Regions from separate parts of the Homo sapiens genome. Here region 2 is linked to region 1. Evidence: promoter capture Hi-C in 16 types of primary human blood cells and fetal thymus (Javierre and others, 2016). All regions are on one chromosome and are shown on one strand. The core of a region is centred on a gene start or on the middle of the fragment in contact, and the rest is flanking DNA. Distances in the headings are between cores, read along the strand shown.

The links. The method cuts DNA at HindIII sites, captures the fragments that hold promoters and counts their contacts. A CHiCAGO score of 5 or more calls a contact.
Region 2: a fragment that was not itself captured here is called in contact with the fragment with the promoter of H1-1 in region 1 in 1 of 17 cell types (activated CD4 T cells); the score reaches 5.1 in activated CD4 T cells.

Annotation. Positions count from the first base shown.
Region 1 is chr6:26,016,473-26,019,172 of GRCh38, forward strand. H1-1 (H1.1 linker histone, cluster member) reads right to left here and starts at 1,315. Exons shown (of 1, transcript NM_005325.4): 1 at 560-1,315. The coding sequence starts at 1,260. The coding sequence ends at 613. It also overlaps the pseudogene H3P26. RefSeq lists an enhancer at 1-507. The HindIII fragment of the contact is 5,921 bases long and covers 1-2,700 here.
Region 2 is chr6:27,125,602-27,128,593 of GRCh38, forward strand. No RefSeq gene overlaps it. Among named protein-coding and RNA genes, the nearest start is that of H2BC11, 5.7 kb to the right of the region's middle. RefSeq lists enhancers at 1,446-1,495, 1,706-1,775, 2,798-2,957. The HindIII fragment of the contact is 5,241 bases long and covers 1-2,992 here.

The DNA of each region.
Region 1 (2,700 bases), core at 65-2,564:
TGCAGAAAGCAAGCGAGCTAGGCCTACCTGGCGGGGCTTTCAGAGGACGCCAACGTGGGCGCCAGCCACGCCAGCAGGGTCACCGTCCTTCCCAAGGACAGACAGCTCGCTAGCCACTCCTGTGGAGAGGGCGTGGTTAAGCCATATATTTTGCCAACTATCCCAGAAGCATTTCTTAGGACCACCCAATTTCGGAAAATGCTACTTTAGCAATATTGACCCCAAAACGCAATATCCCCACTTTAACCTTGTATAATAAAAAGCCTCAAGCCTGGGACTGGGCTTCAACCTTGGTTCAATACGGTTATGACTAATTAGCTTGGAGTCGTGAGACGCGGGACTTCCGGCTACCGAAACCCAGGTGACTTTAAAACTCGATTTTAACTCGGTGCATTTGAATTCACCTTGCTATCTTTGATAGATTGAGTAGTAAATTCTTACTAGATGAGGCTATGTTAAAGTTCTATCGACTCTCCAAGTGATTCTAATATAATTGAGGGCGTGTTGCATTTGCTTGGGGGATTTCATCTGTGTACTACAGCTCTTTTCCTGAAATGCGTAGGTGGCTCTTAAAAGAGCCGTTGGGTTACTAGAAGAAACTTCTAACTGAATTTACTTTTTCTTGGGTGCCGCTTTCTTGGGTTTGGCAGTCTTTGGCTTCGTCACCCTAGCCTTGGCCGCCTTGGGTTTTACAGCCTTAGCTTTAGCAGGGCTTTTAGCTACTTTCTTGGGCTTTACAGTTTTGGGTTTTTTTGGATTCTTGGAGGATTTCCTTGTTGCCGCAGGCTTTTTAGCCTTTTTCGGAGTCTTGACGCTCTTTTTGCTAGCCCCCGTGGCCTTTTTGAGCTTTTTAGATGCACCCGTTGCCTTAGTTTTTGTAGCCACCTTTGAGGCGCCGGGCTTGGTTTCCACGGAGGACGCCTTCTTGTTGAGCTTGAAGGAACCCGAGGCTCCGGTACCCTTTGTCTGCACCAACGTTCCCTTGCTTACCAGGCTCTTAATGCCCAGCTTAATGCGGCTGTTGTTCTTCTCCACGTCGTAGCCTGCGGCCGCCAGCGCCTTTTTAAGAGCTGCCAACGACACACCACCACGCTCCTTAGAGGAGGAAGCAGCCTGCACGATCAGCTCTGACACGGAAGGGCCAGCGGGTTTTTTCTTGGAGGCTGCTGCAGCCTTAGCAGGTTTCTTTGCCTTCTTGCCAGCTAAAGGTTTCTCAGGAGCAGCAGAAGCGGCGGGGGCGGGAGGCACTGTTTCAGACATGGTGACTAACACAGCACACCAAATAAAGTGGTATAAACCTGACGAAGCAGGATGCGAAAAAAAGGCCCCAACGCAGCCTATTTATAGGGTGGGACTGCGCCGTGATTGGTGCCCGTCAGTGCCCGCCCCTCGCGCCCTAGCGCCCCCTGCGCGCTGCCGAGGGTTTCGCCCAGTCTCAGAAGGCAGCTGGGGGCCTCTAGGGCCTATGGTCCTGCTCCCCTCAACGCAAGCAAACACACAGAAAAAGCCGCTCTGGTTGCCTCATTGTGAAGGAAATTGTAGGCAGACTGCCGCCCAGTAACATCAGAGGGTACCGCTTCTCTCTCAAAAAGCAGCTCTTTTTTAGGGAGTAGGTTGAGAGGGGGCGGTTTACAAATGCAGTGCCACAAGCATCCGAGGAGTTTTATTAGAAATTTTTAGAGGTCCGTTGCCAGAGATGTTAGTTTTTAATTTGCAAGAAATGTAAAATACAGTGTTTTGAATAGTTGCGGAGGGAGAGAAAAGTGCGAGTTTTAGGCCGTGTTAGGGCCAGTTGTCATCAACTCTATTACATTTTCTGGCAATGTTTTAGAGCGATGTGTCTCGCGAATACCTTTCACGTCAAACAAGAATGAATCGTAGACAACACCAGAATTCACAAACGCTGCAATTAATACTCAAACTGCAAGTGTGGAAACGTTTCTGCACTTGCAACTTATTTCCACAGTCCAATGTGGGATGCACTTCAGGAATTTCCAATGCCCTTTTCATCCATACAACATGCCCCAAATTGGTATTAAGGTTTACAACCTGTGTTCCATGTCAGCACACGCAATCAGCGCACCATGACATGGTCAACTCATTCTTTTATTCAACAAATATTTATGGGCCTCACAAGCCTGCGAAAGGCGTTAAATGCTGGGTCCACGAAACCGGTTCCCTGACAGGCATTCTGCTGGGGAGTTAAGTCCACTTAGTGTGAAAGCAAACACGGGTGATAAATGCAAGCACACCCTGGGGATAAGATTTTATGGTAACAACCCTTTAACTTGTTTGTGGCTGTTAAGTGCATTTCAAAGTATCAATAAGCTAAAACGATCTCACATTGCCAATCAGAGACTCAGCTAATGGGAGAATAAAAAACTATTAAATCGACATCCACTTCTACAATCCTATTCTGGATAACCCCCTAGCACAGCACAGCAGAGAGTGAGGTAATGCGGTCTTATTTCCGCTCCTGCTGTGGTAGTTTTCAAATAAGTCCGAACCATGCTAAGTAACCTGAGCTTTTCCCCTTTTTGTTCAAACAACGTGCCAACCAAATAATGGAGTGGTCCCAGATAAGTATTGTACCCATCTTCTGCACCAGTGCTTCCTACGTCCCATTTTATTGAGAAGGCATGCATTCAAATATTTCACGTAATTTCTAAAAATTTGGAAAATAACGGTTGGAAACTCTAC
Region 2 (2,992 bases), core at 41-2,540, 1.1 Mb after region 1:
CAAGGCTTTCCAAATAATACAGTCCTGAATTTGAGCCTCAGAGAAGGCAGGTATATTTTCAAGTCATGCACTGTATCAATTGCCTTTTTTTGGTACATAAAAGAAAATACTGTATATGCTAATAATCATTAACAAAAAAACATTCAGGTAAAAAGAAAAAATCTGAGTTTTAACAAAACTGAAAAACACTCAGAAGAGGACTATATGGAATGACAATTTGTTTTTCATCTTCTGGATCATCCCCTGAGGAAAGTAAAGAAATTTCCCTCAGGATATTCCAGTTGGCAACAGCAGAGCAGAGGAATATTACTTTATTCATTTATTCAGAGAAGTACTTTGCTGGGCACTGTTCTAGAAGCTGGGAAATACAAGTGATCAAAATATAACCTACCCCACAACTCCCAAATCCAGCTCGAAAAAACTTTTAGTGTGGAGGATGGGATAGTAAAGATAATAAGCCAATGAATAAGGAAAACATAGCATTTCAGATCTTTATATTATGATAAAAAAAAAAAAGTCCTAAATTGGAACAGGAAACACAGATGGGGTGGCTCAATTACAAGACAGCAGTTAAAGAAGGCCTCACTGACAAGATGAGTTCCCAGTGTCAGGACCCCAATATCCTTCCTTACAAAGAGTGGGGATCCCACCCTAGAAAAGGAATAGCAGTTCAGCCACCCCACAGCAGCTCTGGCATGGCTGTTTCTGGATACCTTCATGGAGAAATGCACACACTGCCCTTCATTTCAAAGATGAGCATCAGTCTCGTCTTCAGAGAAGATGCAGCCATTGTGGGGTTAGGGTTTCTCTCCTCAGGTCACTAGTGTAGATGCGCCTGCTGAGAAGTTTCAGCCACTCCACCTGCAATAAGAAAGACAGTTAATGAGAAAAGCAAGAGACAGAACCTGTGAAGAACATGTGACCATCAGTCATTTGAATGAAAGGGGGCAAATGTGAATGAAAGGGGACACATTTGTTTATTTGTGTTTGTATAAAGATATTCCAGACAGGTACACAGGAAACGAATAAAAGTGGTTAATTGTAGTATATCAAAGATAAAACACCAGGCCTTACTTTAAATGACGAAAACAGATTTTATTTAGTAACCACTGACAGTGGGGAACCATCTGGGTTTCATAACTGGCACATATCAAAATCAGGCTCCACTCCTACCAGAGCCTGGGAGACGAGGGCCCTATCTTCAGACGTTGACTGAAACAAACAGTAAATTCCTTTGGCGGCATCAATTGAGTTTTCTCAGGCAGGCACTTGAGAAGACCGGGGCTATTAGTAACTATGTTCGGGTTTGTTCAGGTCTTTATAGACCAAGGTGGCCACCTAGTCCAGAAGAGGGCTCAGAAGAAGCCGCCTAGAGTTTGGTCAAAAAGAGAATCTTTGCCAAGTAGATGGGGGAACTGGGCGGCTGGGGGCTGTTGGGGATGTGATGGTTTATAGTATTTCTTGTATATTCAATTATTAAACCGTAGCAATGAAATGCCTAATCGAAATCATAAAACGAAACAAAGTTTTGGCTACATTAGCCTATCCGTTATTGCCATAAGATGGCGACAGCCCTTCTCAACTCATAAAACTAAACAAAGTTTTAGCTACATTATCCCATCCATTATCGCCACAAGATGGCGATAGCGCTTCTCAACTCGCCTGCGGGACGGAGGCAGGGTGCGGCCCGGAGAACTCCTCCCTGTTCCAACAGCAGCTCTCCAGCCCGCAGCGCTTCCTGACGTTCCGTTAGTTCAGTCTCCTGAACTTCTCTGCATGTAGATTCCTCTCAGGGTAGCCCTTTGTTGACCAAAAACGAAATATGTTCACTGATTTGGCCAGCTTTTTTTTTTTTAACTTTTTTTTTGGAGGGGAAAGGGAGTGGTCATGGACATCCTGAAGCAGACACAAAAATATAGAGAATCCTGCACTTCCCAAGTCTCGTCGCACAGGCTTCAACAATTACCAACATCTTGCCCATTTTGTTTCATTATCCGCACCCACACTGACAGATGAGGGAGTCTAAAAAATATCTGAAACATGAAATCCCAAATATGTGATTTTAATCATGAATATTTTCACAAATATCCTAACAGATATGGATATAAAGAAAAAACGCTAAGATTTTACACCTAAGAAAATTTAAAAAATGATGTGTAACATTATCCAATACCTAGCCCTTAAAGAAAGAAAATCCTGAATTGTCTCAAATATTTTTATATTTTGTCTGAATGAGATCCCACCAGATCCAAATATGGCATTTGATTGCTGTTCCTCTTGAATGTATTAAAATCCATAGATTTACCCAAGTCTCCAAGTAGCCTGACTGCCCTTTGAAAAAGGAATTGAGACCATAATCTGGGTGGGAATTCTCACTGATCATGGATTGTCATTGCTTTTAAACCATTCTTTGAAAAGTGTTGGGGAAAAAATATTTTGTTTTCTTTCTTTTTTTTTTTTTTTTTTTTTTGAGACAGAGTCTCTCTCTGTTGCCCAGGCTGGAGTGCAGTAGCACGATTTCAGCTCATTGCAACCTCTGCCTTGCGAGTTCAAGTGATTTTCCTGCCTCAGGCTCCCAAGTAGCTGGGACTACAGGCACGCACCATCACGACTGGCTTATTTTTGTATTTTTAGTAAAGACCAGGTTTCACCATGTTGGCCAGGCTGATCTCTAACTCCTGACCTTACGTGATGTGCCTGCCTCAGCCTCCCAAAGTGCTGGGATTACATGCATGAGCCACTGCACCCAGTCAAAGGTATATTTTTTATGAGACTATTTTTAAAAACACTCAAATTGTCTGTCACAGCTCCTTGCCTATGCCCCTAAAAAGAGAGGGGAGGAGTGGGGGAAGGGGGGGAAACAGAAACAAAAAGAAAACTGACAAACAGAGGAGGAGTCCAAAAGCCCAACACCCATTAAGTCAAGACTTCCCACAGTTCTCTAAGCCAGCAAATGAATGTAATTTAAACTGCTTTAAACTTCATATAAAAA